Regions from separate parts of the Homo sapiens genome. Here all the other regions are linked to region 2. Evidence: promoter capture Hi-C in 16 types of primary human blood cells and fetal thymus (Javierre and others, 2016). All regions are on one chromosome and are shown on one strand. Each heading gives the region's core, a stretch centred on a gene start or on the middle of the fragment in contact. The rest is flanking DNA. Distances are from core to core; before and after follow the strand shown. Region 1 overlaps MEAK7 (MTOR associated protein MEAK7). Region 2 holds the start of WFDC1 (WAP four-disulfide core domain 1). Region 3 has its middle 2.5 kb from the start of ATP2C2-AS1. Region 4 overlaps ATP2C2 (ATPase secretory pathway Ca2+ transporting 2).

What was found. Contacts are between HindIII fragments. The CHiCAGO score rates a contact against its expected background, and 5 or more counts as called.
Region 1: a fragment that was not itself captured here is called in contact with the fragment with the promoter of WFDC1 in region 2 in 4 of 17 cell types (M1 macrophages, M2 macrophages, M0 macrophages and 1 more); the score reaches 9.0 in M1 macrophages.
Region 3: a fragment that was not itself captured here is called in contact with the fragment with the promoter of WFDC1 in region 2 in 1 of 17 cell types (M1 macrophages); the score reaches 6.5 in M1 macrophages.
Region 4: a fragment that was not itself captured here is called in contact with the fragment with the promoter of WFDC1 in region 2 in 5 of 17 cell types (M1 macrophages, M2 macrophages, M0 macrophages and 2 more); the score reaches 9.6 in M1 macrophages.

The regions. Positions count from the first base shown.
Region 1 is chr16:84,485,262-84,489,550 of GRCh38, forward strand. It overlaps MEAK7 (MTOR associated protein MEAK7), which reads right to left. Exons shown (of 8, transcript NM_020947.4): 4 at 4,017-4,161; 5 at 1,370-1,798. Among named protein-coding and RNA genes, the nearest start is that of MEAK7, 17 kb to the right of the region's middle. The HindIII fragment of the contact is 2,956 bases long and covers 975-3,930 here.
Region 2 is chr16:84,292,923-84,297,436 of GRCh38, forward strand. WFDC1 (WAP four-disulfide core domain 1) reads left to right here and starts at 1,956. Exons shown (of 7, transcript NM_021197.4): 1 at 1,956-2,193. The coding sequence starts at 2,050. LOC124903734 reads left to right here. Exons shown (of 6, transcript XM_047435022.1): 5 at 595-713; 6 at 1,411-1,916. The coding sequence ends at 1,916. The HindIII fragment of the contact is 4,383 bases long and covers 1,542-4,514 here.
Region 3 is chr16:84,467,481-84,472,207 of GRCh38, forward strand. No RefSeq gene overlaps it. Among named protein-coding and RNA genes, the nearest start is that of ATP2C2-AS1, 2.5 kb to the left of the region's middle. The HindIII fragment of the contact is 2,457 bases long and covers 1,302-3,758 here.
Region 4 is chr16:84,444,121-84,448,770 of GRCh38, forward strand. It overlaps ATP2C2 (ATPase secretory pathway Ca2+ transporting 2), which reads left to right. Exons shown (of 27, transcript NM_014861.4): 16 at 2,209-2,310; 17 at 4,413-4,569. Among named protein-coding and RNA genes, the nearest start is that of ATP2C2-AS1, 21 kb to the right of the region's middle. The HindIII fragment of the contact is 223 bases long and covers 3,279-3,501 here.

The sequences.
Region 1 (4,289 bases), core at 1,203-3,702, 190 kb after region 2:
TCCCACCATTCCCAGAACTAAGATAAAGATCTAGAACATCCTGAAACCTAGATATAAATCAAACCCTAGAAACAATGCAATCTAGGAGATAGAGGTGCCCAACCCTCAACCTGGTGACCCCTGCTACCTATTCCAGCCAGATGCCACCTAGCCTCTGCTGAAAGCTCTCCTGCAAGGGCAACTCCACCTGGACACAGTTCCCGGCCTTCAGAACCTCTGCCTGGTGGAGAAATGACGATTCCAGAGGTGCGGGGTAAGATACAGGATGTACCGGGGAATGCCAAAGGCAAACCCTGGGGATGGTGGCCCACTCTCAAGTACAGAGGACAGCCCACTGATGGGCGACGCATCTGTAAACATTTCAAAAACTATCTATCTATCCATCCATCCATCCATCCATCCATCTATCTACCTATCTATCTATCTATCTATCTATCTAGAGATGGAGTCTCGCTCTGTTGCTCAGGCTGGAGTGCGGTGGTATGATCTCGGCTCACTGCAACTCTGCTTCCGAGGTTCAAGCAATTCTCATGCCTCAGCCTCCCACGTAGCTGGGATTACAGGCATGCGCCACCACACCCATCTAATTTGTGTACTTTCAGTAGAGACGTGGTTTCACCACGTTCACCAGGCTGGTCTCAAATGCCTGACCTCAAGTGATCCACCTGCCTCGGACTCCCAAAGTGCTGGGATTACAGGCTTGAGCCACCACGCCCAGCCTTATTATTTTTTTTTTTTTTTTAAGATAGAGGCAAGGTCTCACTATGTTGCCCATGCTGGTCTCAAACTCCTGGGTTCAAGTGATCCTCCTGCCTCAGCCTCCCAAAATGCTGGGATTCCAGGTGTGAGCCACTGCACCTGGCCTGTGTTTTAAATATTTTTAAAGGACTCTTTTCATCAGAGTATTCTTCCTTGAGGGAAGGAAAAGAATTTACTTAGAACCTTTCATCCAGTGCATTCAAGGTCATGCACAAAGCTTCCAAATTCCAACAAGCAAACGCGTGGCGGTGGGGGCAGGGGCAGGAAGGCCCAGGGAAGGAAAATGTCCGATCTGAACCAATTACCATCTCCTGGTCCCCTCGGAGGCATCTGTGGCTTGACTTCTCCCACGCCCCATAGACCCGGCACCGTGTAATAACTGGGCCCGTGTCCTCGCCTGAAAACTGGGGGTCACACGGCCTGTCCTGAAGAACTCTGATGTGATAAACACCATAGAGCAGCATCACATTTTCCTATCGCCCCGACTGCGTCTAGAGAAACACTTGGAGAAGATGGGAGAGCCCTATTTAGCACCCCCACCCTCTCCCTTTCTCCAGAGCTCTTTGCCCGTGCTGTGCCACTCGTCAAGGTTCAGGACACCAAGTCTTACCTTGAAACTGAGGCTTCACCTCCCAAGAGCAAGAGGCAAACCCACCGAACACATGCTTGTCATGGTCCTCGAGGACAGCCACACAGGGTCCCCGGTGAGTGATGTGGCCACAGAGCTGGGAGAAGCTGTGTCCATGGAGCTCAGACGAAAAGAGCAGGCACCAGCGGTGCCGCTGCTCCCGAGGCAGCTGGGCGTTGATGTACATGACAGAGAGGACATCCAGGATGCTCTCAAAACCCCTGCCCTGGTCCACTTGACGCTCAGGGACCAGGGTAGTCAGATCAAGAGACGAGCACAGGATGAGAAAGCCCTTGCAAATGACCACACTCAGGAATATGGCCACATGGGGGACCCTGAACACCCAGTCCTCGATCACAGCTCGGTCACAGTCATAGTCCAGCCACTGGGGCCCCAGAAGTCTCTTGCCATCTAGGGGAAGGGGATGGTCAGCATTAGTGGGGCTGTTATGTCACCATTTAGCTACTATCTAAACCCACACTGATCAGTGTGGGAGCCACGAGTCACATGCAATTACTGAGCACAGAAAACAGGGCTCGTGTGAATTGAGAGGTGCCGTCAGTGTAAAAGGCACACTTGATTTCAAAGATTTGGTATGAAAAAAGAATGTAAAATATCTCAATTTTTAAATATTCATTACATTTCAAAATTGTATTTAGGACATATTATTAGAATCAGTTTTCCCCTGTTTCTCTTTACTCTTTTAACATGGTCCCTAGAAAAGGGAAAATTTCACATGGGGCTTGCTTTGTCTATTGGCCAGCACTGATCTAAACAATCCGACTTCAACACTTTTCTCTCCTCTCCAAGCAGCATTTCAGAACCCCTCGAGATGGCAGTGCCCTGGCAATGGGGCTGGAATAAATGCCTGAGCTACACCTGGAGCCGCTCATCCAAGGGCGTCGGTCCTGCCAAGGTCACTGGAAGGGGAATGTTCCCAGCCAGTCAAGGGGCTGGTAGGGCACTTCCTGGGACTCCTGCAGTTTATCTGGGAAGTGCGGGTTTCATTCGCCACTAATCAGGCTTAATCATACAGCACTTGGAGCCCTATTTTCCATCCCTCACCCACTAAGAGTGGAGGTGACAGTAAGAGCGTGGGAGCACACACCTGGGACTCGAACAGCTGGCTTCAAACCCGAGCTCAGGAACAGCATGACCTTGCCAAGGTCTGGACCTCTGTGCCTCAGTTTCCTCAGGTATAAAATGGAGGTAAGGCCAGAACCTGCCCCGCTCGGTTATTACAAGGAACAGAGGAGCTTTTACGTCTTAAGCTCTTGCTGACACAAAGGCCCCATTTACAGAGATTATAATTCCCAACCTAGCGAAAATTTGACTAAGCTGAAATATTTTGTGTAACTCAGGCCCATTTTATTAAGCAGGAAATGTAAAAGTACTCCCAACTTCTGATAATTCAAAATTCCTATCATTTCTATTTATTTTTCAAACAGTTTCATTTCTCATTACCTATATATTACTTGAAATCTTAAGGATAATTTTAATCGTCTGAATTACCTTTTCTACTTCACTGAAAACTTTAATTTTTATTTTCATGATTCTTCTTTTAAAACATACTGATTCTAGATGGATGAACAGTTTACCCATAAGACGAATTACTGATACTTACTTGTAAAATTCTTTCCAAGTTCCAAATACCTCATCTAAACTAACTTCTGAAATATAACCTATTTTCAAGCTGTACTTTAAAATCTGGCTTTAAAACAAAAGGGCAACATATTTATAAAGTAAGTCTGCTTTGCAAAGTGATTTGCCACAAGGTTTTTTTTTTTAATCCCAATTAAATTTAAATATATACTGCTTCTCACCCAACAACAGAATACACATTCTTCTCAAATGTGCTTTAAACATTATCCAGAAGTGACCATACTATAGGCCATAAATGATGCATCAACAAATTTTAAAGGATTCAAATAATACAAAGTATCTTCTCTAAACATAATGAAATATAATCAAAAATCAGTACTAAAAGGCAATTTGAGGAATTCACAGGCATGGAGAAATTAAATAACACACTGTTACATAGCCAGTAGGCCAAATGAAAAAATCCTAAGGGACATTAGAAAATATTGAGATCAATGAAAATAAAAACATAACCTATCAAAACTTATGGCATGCAGCGAAGGCAGTGCTGAAAGGGAAATGTGCAAGTGTAAATGCTTATTTGAAAAAGAAGATCTCGAATCAATAACCTAGTATTCTATCTTAAGAAACTAGGAAAAGAAGACCAAACAAATTTAAAGCAAACAGAAGGAAGAAAATAAAAGCTAGAGGAAAATAAATAGAAACTAGAAAGACAACAGAAAATTAATGAAACTAAAAGCTGGTTCTTCAAAAAGTACCGACAAAAATGTGAAAACCCTTTAGCTAGACTAAGAGGAAAAAGGGACAAGAGACAAATTATTTAAATCAGTAATGGAAGTGGGGACATCCCTATTGCTTTTGGGAAAATAAGGATTATTTTAAAATATGCCAACAAACTAGAAAACCTAGAAGAAGGTTCGAGGGCTCACGCATTCTGGTTTCAAAGCTTTACTACACAGCTACAGTAATGGAGACAGCAGGTACCGCTCTACAGCAAAAGACCTGCATCACCGCGTCCACGCACACTTGCCTTGCAGCTTCATGTCAGAGAGCAGCTGAGCAGCCAGCACCTGCACCCGGGGGTTGGGCCCTGGGGCTTCCTTCCCAGTCCAGCCTCTCAGCTCCTGTCTGTGGCTTAGCACGTGCACCACAGAGCCAACCAGATCCTCTGTAAACTGTAAGATCACAATTTTACCATTAAAAACAGTTCCACCATATCCTGAGACCTATGTCATGCCCACATGGAGAAGGGCAATTTTCTTTAACACCAACTATGATGGGCCACAATGTGGGGAAAGGTCAT
Region 2 (4,514 bases), core at 706-3,205:
CTAGACAGCACCTGCTTATAAGGCTAATATGAGACCTAAAAGCATTAAAATGCAGGAAGTGCTTCAAACATTGCCGAACACACAGACTGTATGGCTTTTAAGGTTTTTTTTTTTTGATACAGGGTCTTGCTCTGTGACCCAGGCTGGAGTACAGTGGCGCCATCACAGCTCACTGCAGCCTCAACCTCCCACGCTTAGGTGATCCTCCCATCTCAGTCTCCCAATTAGCTGGGACTACAGGTGTGCATCAGCACGCCGGGCTACTTTTTTTATTTTGTATTTTTTGTAGAGATGAGGTCTCACTATGTTGCCCAGACTGGTCTTGAACTCCTGGGCTCAAGGCATCCTCTGCCTCCCTAAGTGCTAGGATTACAAGTGTGAGCCACCGTACCCGACCTACACAGACTATATGTGTTTGCCACTATTGTCATTCACTAAAAGGCCAAGAGGGGTTGATGATACCTGCCCAGGGCATTCTGAAGGCTGTGCTGGCCAGGAGGTGGGGGGTGAGGGTCCCCAGGGAGGGAGGAACCAATCTTTCTGGAGCACTCACTCTGTGCAAGTGCTGGGCACAGCTGGCACCCTCTCCTGTAGCCCCACATCGATCTCAAGAGGCAGAGACTTTCACATGCCCATTTCACAGATGAGAGAACTGAGGACCATGAGCAAGAGGCTTTCCAGCATCTCGCAGAGGCTGAACTGGGATCAGGCAGGTGCGTCAAGCCTAGTGCTTGGGTCCCTTCTGCTTCGCCTAGGGGGGTGCCACAGGGTCTGACCTACCTGGGTTCCAGCCTCCTCTCTGCTGCTGTTGCATGACCTCAGGCAGCCCCCTCTGTTTCCTCATCTGTAAAGCGGGCATCAAAACAGTGTCTGTTTTGGGGCCGGGTGTGGTGGCTCACACACCTGTAATACCAGCACTTTGGGAGGCTGAGGCGGGCAGATCACTTAAGGTCAGGAGTTTGAGACCAGCCTGGCCAGCATGGTGAAACCCAGTCTCCACTAAAAATACAAAAATTAGCCAGGCATGGTGGCACATGCCTGTTATCCCAGCTACTTGGAAGGCCGAGACAGGAGAATCGCTTGAACCCGGGAGGCAGAGGTTGTAGTGATCTGTGATCACACCACTGCACTCCAGCGTGGGTGACAGAGCAAGACCCGTCTCGAAAAACAAAACAAAACAAAAAACCAGTATCTGTCTTGGAAGTGCTGAGAACAGACAAGGGAATATGAAGTTTGTGAAATGTTGAGCCCGCTGTGCTACATTCCTGTAAAACACACACGTGCACATGCACACCCACGTGCACACACGCATACACATAAATGCACATGTGCAGATACACCGGCTGACAGTGACAGCACACTTATGTGTGTGAAATGCTTTATGTGCTCAATTTCTTTTAAATCTCACAGGAAACACACGCTATGAGGAACTACCCACATGCCCACATCAGGCAGGAGGACCCCGGCGGGTGCAAGGGTGGAAGTCGTCTCTTCATGGCTGCACCCTTGGCCAGTGCCAGTCCAGCAGCCTCTTTCAAAGAAGCTTTTATAGGCAGATAGTTTGTCAGCCCAGCTCGAAATGTGAACAAGGTAGCAGCCGAGCCCCCACCCATCCGGCTGCACTCCCCTGCATGTCCAGCCCCGAGCCCTGTGTCAAGCACACCTCCTTGGGAGGAGACCGCCCCAGCCTGCAAGGAAGTGCTCATTATGGAGAGTGGAGAGTGACAGGCCACTCCCGGCCACGTCTCCAAGCAAGCCGGTGCCCCCTCCTCCTGCTGCCACCGCCCACTGAGCTGCCTGGGCTGCAGACGCCCTGGTTGGAGCGTCTGGGGCCAGATGTTATAGGGCAAGCTAAAAATAACCGGGCAGGCCAGCCACCATCGAGGAAGGGGCATGTGCTGGACGCGGACACATGATCCGAGGGACCCTGCTGGGTGGAACTAAGAAAGTCCAGCAGACTGTGCACGCTCCTGTCCCCACTCACAGGCCCACGCAGCGAGGGGGGCCCCTCTTCTGTGTGCGTCTGGAAGGTCGCTGCCCAGGGAGGAAATGCCTTTAACCGGCGTGGGGCCGGGCAGCTGCAGGAGGCAGATCATCCGGGCTCTGTGCCTCTTGCTACTTCTCCTCCACGCCGGCTCTGCCAAGAATATCTGGAAACGGGCATTGCCTGCGAGGCTGGCCGAGAAATCCCGTGTAAGTGCCTGGGATGGGGAGGCTGGGGCAGCCTGTGTGGGTGGGAGTCAGCCTTGAGGAGAGGCGATCCCTAGACACTGCCTTCTCCTGTAAGTGCTCCCCCAAAACGTGGCAAGGCAGGCGTCTTCCTATCCGTGTGTGTCTGAGTTGTGTGGTGGGCAGATGGGGCTCACCCCCAAAAAAGGACCCTTATCTGTGAATCAAGAGGCAAAAGACACATCACAAATGTGCCAAAGAATCGTGCCTTACTTTTGCCTTGTTACAAAAGTATGCTTGCTCCTGAAAGACAGCATCTCATTTCGGAACCCCAGGATTTAAACGGAGCATTCCGTCTCCCTGATCAGTACCAAATGTTTGTGAAATACACTTATGCATTCATGTGGTTGTTTATTCATTCAGCAAACAGAATGAATACACTCTGTTAAACAGAATTTAGCAGAAACCGCTCTGGGGAAGGCACTCTGTGGGGTCCTGTGGATACAAGATAAAGGAGGTACCAGCCCCCATCCTCAAGGGTGGCGTGGCCGAGGTGCAGAGGCAGTTGGGTGACAAACGATGGCAGTACAAAGAGAAGGCATGAGGCAGTGAGTGGCAAGAAACACATGCCCTGGGGCCAGATGTCTGGGTGTGAATCGGGCTCTGCTGCTCATTAGCTGCGTGGCTTCTCTCAGGCAAGCTGCTTGACGTCTCTGAACCCCAGCAATCTCATCTGCAAAAGACAGAGGGATGCATTTCTTCACACAACTATGTCTGGGTCGCCACTGTTTACCAGGTACTGTCCTAGGCTGTGGGGATACAGGCCTCACATCTCTGCCTGGGGAACTCAATGGGGGGCTGGGGGCAGCAAAGAATAAATGAGAGAGATCTCATTTATTAGTATGTGCAGATTGCAAGTGCTGAGGAAGCAATAAAGCAGGAAGGGAACTAGGAGAGAGAATGGGGTGGAGGAGGCTATCATTTTTGGTTCCTCCCACCCCCCAGAGATCACAGATCCGCAGGGACGGAGTGAGCCAGGACGATATCAGCACACAGAGGGCTCAAGAAGGTAATGCTGGCACCCACAGCACCTGTGTGAGGATTGAATGTCTCAGTATGTAGAACGTCTTTGCAACATAGCAAGCTGGCAGTGCATCTTGGCAGCTTTCAATCAAATAATTGTGACTTTGTTTGGTGTTGCCTAACAGGGTAGCATGTAGGTTCCTTGGGGTAGGGCAGGGTTCTGTTTCACTAATGTGTGCCCCTGGTGCCTGCCATTAAGTTGACGCCTGGTACATTCTTGTGGGTGAATTATGAGCGGCTGCAGTGGTAGCACGGGATGCGTGTGCAGCTCTTCCCCAGGAGAGTCAGACAGGGTTTTTAGGGTTGGGGACAGTGGACCTGTGGCTTTAAAGGATAAATAGGAGTTTGCCAGCTGGAGAAGAGGGAAGGGAGAATGATTAATGACCCCAGGCATAGTGGGGTGCCTGAAACTGTATTGAGACAAATCTGGGCCTCCAGGGCTCATATTCTCCATGTTCGGCACATGCTCGTGGCGGGAGACAGGAGGACTTCGAGAAGTGGAAAGAGTAGTAGAGTGACATGATGAGGCGCTTGGAGAAGGGAAAGCTCATGTGAGATGGTGTAGTCACCTAAGGCTTCCTGGAGGAGGTGGAGACCTTGACTGGATCTTGGGGAAGGATTAGGAATTAGGAGGAGGAAGGAAATTCCTGGAAGAAGGCTCAGCATGAGCCGAGGCTCACAGGCAGAAGTGGTGCATCTAAGAGCTGCTTGGGAGACCAGACCTGGCCAGAGGGGAGGCATTGAGGAGGGGTGAGAGACTCTTCTCAGATTTTATTGACTCCTCCATGCTCTTCTCTGGTGCAACAGGATGATTTAACCCTCAACTGTAGTTAGTAGCACTTTGGTTCTACAACCATAGAGAGATTGCCAATATGTCATCTGATTTTATCTCCACCATGTCCCAAGATGTCATAGGAGCCAGCACTGTGACATCCACATAGGAGGGTCAGGGTTGATATGCGCGGGGGATTTGGGGGAGTCTCTAAAACACAGGCCTGGGTGGGCTGCAGGAGCTGATTCACTTGTAGCCACCACTGGTCAGGATGCAAGTGCTTTGAATTGGCTCCTCGCTGAATTGAAACTTTCCCTGGTTATCAACAGATATTGGCCTCCTTCCTCAGCGCCTAGACATAGGTGAGGTTTATGCAGAACAACTGTGCCAGCCAGGCACGGTGGCTCATGCCTGTAATCCCAGCACTTTGGGAGGCCGAGGCGGGTGGATCACCTGAGGTCAGGAGTTCAAGACCAGCCTGACCAACATG
Region 3 (4,727 bases), core at 1,280-3,779, 180 kb after region 2:
ATACAGATTAGAACAGCCCCAGGGCTGCAACTGCAGAGACTGGTCACCCTCTCCCTCTGAGCTCAACAGTTTCTGAGTCCTGAGTCTTTCTAGCCAATCACTGGGTCTGAGAGTGGTTTCCTGCCCCCCACAACACAAGTTCTATGAAATTGTATGACACACATCAATTCAGGTAACCACTGCTACAATGAGGAGGCAAAACTTCCATCGCCCCTGAAAAACTCCTCCTTACTTTTTATAGTAACACCCTCCTAATCCCAGCAACCTCTAATCCCTTCTTCATCACCATAATGTTGTTCCTTCAATACTGTTACATAAATGGAATCATGGTATAGAACCTTTTAAGACTGGCTTTTGTCACTAAGCATAATACCTGTAAGGTCCCTTCAAGTTGTTTTATGTGTGTTCTTCTTCATGGCTGACTAGTATTCCACTGCATGGATGTACCACAATTTCTTTATCCACTCACTCATGGAGTGACAGAAACTCCTGTACAATTTTTGGAAGTCTATATGAATCTAAAATTATTTCAAAGTGTGTAAGAAGATAAGATATACTCATAGGGCAAAAATACACCAGGTAAAGACAAACAACACACAAGACCAAGGTGACACAGTCTAATCAGACAAGATTAAAAGAAAGGCCAAAAGCATTAAAGGAGACCAAGAAGGAAATTTAACAAGATATAATCACCACTGAAAAATCCATAGGCCAGACTATGTACCAACACAACATTCAAATTTAAAGAGGAAACAGTATGGGAAATTCAGGCAAAGGATACAGAAAATTCATTATATTAACTTACCACATGAAAGGACACAAAACCTCAGTGATTCCAAAGAGTAGATCTAATATAGATGACTTCTTGGTCGGGCATGGTGGCTCAGACCTGTAATCCCAGAACTTTGGGAGGCCGAGGCGGTTGGATCACTTGAGGTAAGGAGTTTGAGACCAGCCTGGGCAACATAGCGAAACCCCATCTCTACTAAAAATACAAAAATTAGCTGGGCATGGTGGTGGGCGCCTGTAATCCCAGGCTACTCGGGAGGCTGAGGCAGGAGAATCGCTTGAACCTGGGAGGCAGAGGTAGCAGTGAGCTGAGATCACACCATGGCACTCCAGCCTGGGCAATGAAGTGAGGCTCTGTCTTAAAAAAATAATAATACAGATGACATCTCTAATCACTATGCAATCTAATTTAAAGACGAGTGACAGGACTAGGGGAAATTCTCTAGCACAGCAAAATTTAAAAACTCTTGGGTACAAGAGAAAATCAAAATGAAGGCCACAGAAAATCTAGAAGCTTATGATCAACACACACCTATCTATACAATACTGCAAAATAACTCAGGGCCCAAGAAAAAAGTAATAGCTTTATGTATTCATCTACTTCCATTATTTTTTATTTAGTAAAATAACTCAAAAAACTGAAAAAAAAAAACTGAAGAAAAGCAGGAATAATATAAAAGCAAAATTAGTAACTGAATCCAATCTAGGAAAATGAAAACACAAGAAAAGGAAAAAAAACATAACTACAAAAGAGTTTCAATACTTTGGGGTCAATATTACATAAAGTAATTTGAAGACTTCCAGCAGAGATTTAAAACAATCCAATGGTAAAAGAAATGGATAAGGTTGTCAAGAGTTAATCCCATCCTCACCTACATCATCAGAAGCAGGAATGCAGACCTGCAATATGCATTTTAAGAAGCTCTCTAGGCAAATCTGATGCATGCTCAAGCGGGGAGAACTACTGGATAAAAGAGGTCAGTAAGAGGCCTGGAACGGTGGTTCATGCCTGGAATCCCAGCACTTTGGGAGGCTGTGGTGGGTGGATTGCTTGAGCTCAGGGGTTTGAGACCAACCTGGGCAACATGGCGAAACCACCTCTACAAAAAACACGAAATTTAGCTGGGAGTGGTGGTGTGCATCTGTAGTCCCAGCTACTCGGGAGGCTGAGGTGGGAGGATTGCTTGACTCTGGAGGCAGAGGCTGAAATGAGTTGAGGTCATGTCACTGCATTCCAGCCTGGATAATAGAGCAAGACCCTGTCTCAAAAAAAAAAAACAAACAAAAAAAAAAACCGGCACGGTGTCTCACGCCTGTAATCCTGGCACTTTGGGAGGTTGAGGTGGGTAGATCACAAGGTCAGGAGATTGAGACCATCCTGGCCAACATGGTGAAACCTCATCTCTACTAAAATACAAAACATCAGCCAGGCATGGTGGTTGCACACCTGTAGTCCCAGCCACTCGGAAGGCTGAGGCAGGAGAACTGCTTGAACCCAGGACGCGGAGATTGCAGTGAGCCAAGATCACGCTACTGCACTCCAGCCTGGATGACAGAGCAAGATTCCATCTCAAAAAGAAAAAAAAAAAAAAAAGAATTCAGTAAGGTAACTGGGAATAAAAACTACAAAAATCAAGAGCTTCCTATGTTAAAATAACCATCACTTAGGAAAAAATGTCCACTGACAGTCCCAGAAATGACAATAAAAATTTACCTAAGAAGCTAGATGTCCCTGTTCTTGGATAGAAGCATCAACGTTAGCCAAATGTCAGCATTAAATATACATTAACATAGGCAGAACCATTTGGAAAGTACTATCCTATTTTTTAGAAGTGGTCACAGTGCAAAGGTCGGAGAAAATAAGCAGCCAAGCATTTGCCGAAAAATTCCAAAAAACAGTAGTAAGAGAAAAACGGCTCTTACATATTTTTATCACCAAATTCCAGCAATTAAAACATGAGAGAGACCTCAATTCATACAGAAACTCAGCTGATGACAAAGTATCATTAGAAGTCAATGGGAAAAGACAAACCACTTAATATACAAGGTAATGGGACTTTATTTTGGGCTAAGATAGGACTATATGTTTAAATGCCTTTTGAAGGCCAGGCACGGTGGCTCATGCCTGTAATCCCAGCACTTTGGGAGGCTAAAATGGGAGGATCACCTGAGGTCAGGAGTTCGAGACCAGCCTGGCCAACATGGTGAAACCCCATCTCTACTAAAAATACAAAAATTAGCCAGGTGTGATGGCAAGCACCTGTAATCCCAGCTACTCGGGAGGCTGAGGCAGGCTAATGTCTTGAACCTAGGAGGCGGAGGTTGCAGTCAGCTGAGATCACACCACTGCACTCCACCTGGGTGACAGAGTGAGACTCCATCTCAAAAAGTAAAAAAAAAATATATATATATATATATATATGCATACACACACACACATATATAATTTATATATATACACACACATAAAAATATATATATATACACACACACACACATATATATATATAAAAGCCTTTTGAATAGATAAAAGATTTAAGAGGTAAAAACAGAAACCACAGTAGAAGAAAATGATTTTTAATACTCAGAGTAGAGACAGACTGCCTAAACAAACGGCAAATCCAAAGACCCTTAAGCAGAAATGCTGGGAAATATGACAGAAACTGTAAAATTTATGGGCAGAAAAACGCCACAAACGAAGTCAAATAAACCGTAGAAAACATTGACCATACATGGGAAATGCTACTTCATTCATAAAAAGCACTGTTGGCCGGGTGTGGTGGCTTGCACCTGTAATCCCAGCACTTTCGGAGGCTGAGGCAGGAGGATCCCTTGAGTTCAGGAGTTCAAGACCAGCTTGGGCAACATATTGAGACCTCATTTCTATTTTATTTTTTAAAAGCACTGTTACAAATCGATAAGAAAAAGACCGACACCCTAGAAAACCAAGAAAAAGATATGATACAGAAAGCTTTTGAAAAATGAGGCTGTTCACTGTCACTTGGTAGAAAAATTTAAACAGTACAGTTTTGAGCAAGACACCATATGGGAGCCCAGCCCACAAGAGACTGCACACCAGCCTGGGGCTCAGCAGCACCAGGGCAGAGGCACAGCAAAGTGCGGGCTGCCACTGCCAAGGTGCAAGTGGGGTGCGTGTTCCCACTCACTGGCATGGGCTGCTGCCACTGAAAGCAGCCTCACCCTCCCCAGTGGCAAGGTCACAGCACAACTGCTGTTACCTCCCACCCAAGCATTCCACCAGAGGCCTGGGGACTGCCCCCTCCCCAGCTACCACAGAAAATGCCTGCGTATGCCATGGAGGGACCTCAGACAAGCCCGCCCAGCCTGGCTTTGCCGCACATGCTGATATGGCTTGGCTGTGACCCCACCCAAATCTCATCTTGTACTTCCCATAATCTCCACGTGTCATGGGAGGGAGCCGGGTGGGGGAGGTAATTGAATCATGGGGGTAGTTACCTCCATGCTGTTTTCATGATAGTGAGTTCTGACACGATCTGATGGTTTTATAAGGGGCTTTGCTCCTGCTTTGCTCTGCACTTCTCCTTCCTACCATCATGTGAAGAAGGACATGTTTGCTTCCCCTTCCGCCATGATTGTAAGTTTCCTGAGGCCTCCCTAGCCATGCTGAACTGTGAGCCAATTAAACGTCTTTCCTTTAGAAATTATCCAGGCTCAGATATGTCTTTATTAGCAGCATATGAGAACGGACTAATACACACACCCTATGCTGGAACACACAGTCTAGATGACTGGGGACGGCCCAGCCGAGGCCACCACTATTGGTACCTGAGCACTCCTCTCAGACTGCTGAGGGTGGGTTCACCCACCCTGCCACTACCTGCACTAGTTGGCATCTACATGCACGTGCCACCTGTGGGCCTGGAGACTGGCCCACCCAGCTCATCACAGCCACCACC
Region 4 (4,650 bases), core at 2,140-4,639, 150 kb after region 2:
CACACCACTGCACTCCAGTCTAGATGAGAGAGATCCTGCCTCAAAAAAAAAAAAAAAAAAAAAACAAAAAGATTGGGCACAGTGGCTCACACCTGTAATCGCAACACTTTGGGAGACCGAGGCAGGTGGATCACCTGAGGTCAGGAGTTCAAGACCAGCCTGGCCAACATGGTGAAACCTCATCTCTACTAAAAATATAAAAATTAGCTGGGCATGGTGGTGCACACCTGTAATCCCAGCTACTCGGGAGGCTGAGGCAGGAGAATTGCTTGAACCCAGGAGGCGGAGGTTACAGTGAGCCGAGATCGTACCATTGCACTCCAGCCTGGGTGACAGAGCAAGACTCCGTCTCAAAAAAACAAACAGAAATCATGACATCGTATTATTTTTCTTCCATTCACAGAAGAGAATTCTCTCTGCAATGTCTGTAATAGTGAATGGAGCTCATTTCCCGTTTTAAAATAGTGCTGAGTCTGCCCCATTCAACAACTCCTCGCCGCCCAGAAGGGAAGGTGCCGGCCTGACCGCCTGGCAGGAATGACACCCATGTGTCACCTTGCTTCCGCCACCAGCCGTCCCTGCAGCCTAGAGAGGAGAGAGGTTCCAGCACCCAGAAGAGATTTCCTTGATGTGTTATAATTTTCCTTTTTCCTGGGGCCTGGCTTAAGATTTTGGAATACAGAACAAACACTGGCTGGCATGTAGGAAGTGCTGCCTGTGTGACAGGCATGGGGCAAGCACTTTGTGGTTCTTACCTGTCTCACCTGCTCTAAATGGCACTGAGGCCAGGCCAGTGGTTCCCGGGCTTTTCTTCCATTATTGCTCCTGGATTAGGGTCTTGGGGTTACTGAAATAAAACACCACTGGCTGGTGATTTAGTGTAACCAAAACACACTGAAACACAGCTCTGTGGCCAGAAGTTGAAATCAAGGTGTGAGCAGGGCCAGGCTCCGTCTCCCAGTTTCTGGGTGTTACTGGCAGCCCCGGGCGTTCCTTGACTCGCAGACGCATCCCTGCCTTGGTCTCTCACACCAAGCTCTGTCTCTGTCACGAGGTGCTCCCCGCCACGCCTCTGCGCAGCGTTTTCCTCTTTTTTTTTTTTTTTTGAGACGGAGTCTCGCTCTGTTGCCCAGGCTGGAGTGCACTGGCTTGATCTCCGCTCACTGCAACCTCCGCCTCCCAGGTTCAAGCGATTCTCCTGCCTCAGCCTCCCAAGTAGCTGGGACTACAGGCGCCTGCCACCACGCCTGGCTAACTTTTTGTATTTTTAGTAGAGACAGGGTTTCACCATGTTAGTCAGGATGGTCTTGATCTCCTCACCCCGTGATCCACCCGCCTCGGCTGCCCAAAGTCCTGGGATTACAGGCATGAGCCACCATGCCCGGCCTTCCTCCTCTTATATCCAGTCATGTTGGCTTAGGGCCAACCCTAATAGCCTCAAATTGACGATATCTGCAAAGGCGCTATTCCAAATCAGGTCACATTCAGAGGTTCCGAGGTTAGGACTTCAACATATCTTTTGTGGGGTACAATTCAACCCCACTAAGGAGATGGTTTAGGCATTTCTTCCCTAATCACCCCACTCCCTCCCCATGAAATTTAATATGGTAGATACACTGTATTGTACGCATATCTGCACTTTCTACGTAAAAGGAGTAGTTTTTTGTGCCCCTGCTGCACCGCATTTTCACCCCCTGTGGGACAGTGGGATGCATGGGTCATGACTGGTTTACACCTGGGGAAACTGAGATTCTGAGTTGTCACATCACTGATCCAAAAGCCACCAAAGAGCAACAAAGGGCCAGGCTGGCAAGGACCCCAGGCTGTGGACGGGGGGCTGGCAAGGACCCCATGTTCTGGACGCAGGGCTGTCTCACTGACTCAGGGGGTTCCGTCTGAGAAATTGCTACACCTTCAAGTCTGAAACATTCCTCCCGGCAGAAACACTGCAGGTTTGTTTCTAAGCAGATTTCAGATAGAAGCTGTTGCAAAGACCGTCTTGTCTGCCCTTCAGCCAAGAGAAGAGACTTTTTTTTTTTTTTCTAGGTGGGACATTCCAAGAGAAATGGCCTTTTTTCTATGTGCTAAATGCTTGGATTTCTTATCTGCCAGAGGTGGTTTGAACAATGAATAATTTAAATGGACTGAGCTTTGTATAGAGATTGGCTTCGGATGACTCACTAAAAATGTGTCATTTTATTATGCTAGATGGACTTAAGTGATATTAAAAATTCATATATAAGAAAAAAAGAGATTCCATTCAGTTCAGAGCAGAAGTGGATGGCGGTGAAATGCAGTCTGAAGACTGAGGTGAGACCTTTCAATCTTCAACCTCTTCTCTCTTTCTGCCCGGGCCCCCACCCAGAGATAAAGCAAAATGCAGACTTCAAGGATAATTTGAAAGTTCCTGGCTGCTTCTGTGACGTTCCAAATACATGGAAAAACTTAATCACCATCATACCTTTGATTCTCTTGGGTCTGCTTCTGGCTTTTTGTTTAAAACAGAAGTTCTTAAAGCAGGGTCCCTGGAGTAGCAGCGGTTGTTACCACGCGAGACTTTATTAGAAATGCAGAATCTCAGGTTCCATGCCAGACCTCCTGAGTCGAAGGGTCCAGGGGTGGGACCCAGTAACCTTCATTTTCTGCAGATTCTGATGCAGGTGCAAATGTTGAGATCGACCAGCCTGTAATCCAGTGACTGAGGCCCTGCTGCTAACACCAGTCGCCAACTTGCCAGTCCTCTCTTTGCAGCCCTGTGCTAAGTTTTTTATACTTCTTAGCTCATCTCCCCGTCATACTGGGGAGCAAATCCTTCAGTACGGAAGGCGTGTCTGTGTGGTGCATCAGCGTGTGCACACGTGTTGTCCCTGGCTAGAGGAACACATACCAAGCTATGGCCACCCCGGGTGGACATTACAGCTGATTTTTAAAATTTTCTTTTCAGATTTGTTGTGGCTTTTCAGATTTTCCTTAAAAGCTATTTTTTAAAGTTTTTGTTGCCTTCTACCGTTTTCTCCACCCCTCCTCTTCCCTCCCACTCTTTCTAGAATCTATCATGTCTGCCCACGCAGACTGCTCAGCTCCCACTCAGGGCTGTGGGCAGCTCAGCCAGCTCATGCCAGGCCCTTCCTGTGCATGGATGGACACATGTACATTTCAGGGGCTTAGAAGGGATTATAGATTTTCAAAAAACTTTTAGACCTTTAAATCTTTTCCCTTGCAAGGCAATGGTAATATATTCTCATTGAAAAAGTATAGAAATATGACATAAAAATGAAAGCTTCTTTCATTCCACCCTTCTTCCCTCCCTCCCCACCACCCACCCAGAGGTAATTCTATTTTAAGTCTGGGATGGAGCATTGCAGATTTTAAATATGCAAACGACAACATCTGGATGGTATTTTCAAAACAAGGTCACTATTTATAGTGTGTGTAATTTGCTTTTTCCCCCTAAGATTTTCTTTTAATATTATGTCTTAGATGTCTGTGTTGGTTAATATAAGCTTGTTATATTAACATATTAATTATATAATATGTAATATATATTACATATATTACATATATTATTTAATATATATTATGTAATATATATTATAATTGTATAAGAATATATTAGTTATATATAATATATAATATACATATAAATAATATAATGTAATATAATACATATAAATAATATACAATACATATGTACTATAATTAATGTATTAACATCTGTAATTAATATTATATTTATTAATAACATTAATATGTTAATTACATATTAATAACATATATAATTAATATTATATTATCTTATAACAGTGTTACATTCACACTGTGCACCCACGTGAGCCAGGTATGTCCGGTATTGAGGCTAGGGGTACAGTGTGACTCTCACTGACCCAGGGCCTCCCCCCGTGGAGTTCATAGTCTACATGTTTGTCATGACAGAGCTTAAGAAAAACACAGGAAAAATGATCAGCTACTCATGTGGCTTCACTATTACAAGCCAAGTGCTGGGGGTGGGTACAAAATAGACTTGGTGCTGCCCTAGGGAGGCAACAGTCTAATGGAAATATTCCCAGTTAATCACACCCCCAAAGGCACAGTCCCAGCTGGGATGATACCTCCCGTGCATGAAACATACAAGACGCTCTGAGTGACCATAACAAGGGAACTGAAAAAAGAACAAGGGTAGTACAGGTTGAAGATTGGCCTTGTTCTTTCTCTGGACTGCAAAACGTTCCATGGATGGATTCTAGAACTTCGCGAACCTGTCCAGCACCTGTGAACAGCACCAGCCTATGATAAATAACTCCGCTGCAAAGATCCCCGTGTGTGTCTTTGTAACCTTGTGCAGAGTGGGGTGATGGTCAGTATGAACCAAGGCTTCCAGTGATAGTGGATTTCTTCCCTTTGTCTTTTCTAAGGATCAGGAAGACATTTACTTCATGAAAGGGGCCTTGGAAGAGGTGATCCGCTACTGCACCATGTACAACAACGGGGGCATCCCCCTGCCGCTGACGCCCCAGCAGAGGTCATTCTGCCTGCAGGAAGAGAAGAGGATGGGGTCGCTCGGTTTGCGGGGTCAGTGCCTGTGGTCCCGGCCCAGAGCTTTAAGCTTGCATGTAACATTGACTTTTAAGTGCATTCAAGCAGGGTCCCTAG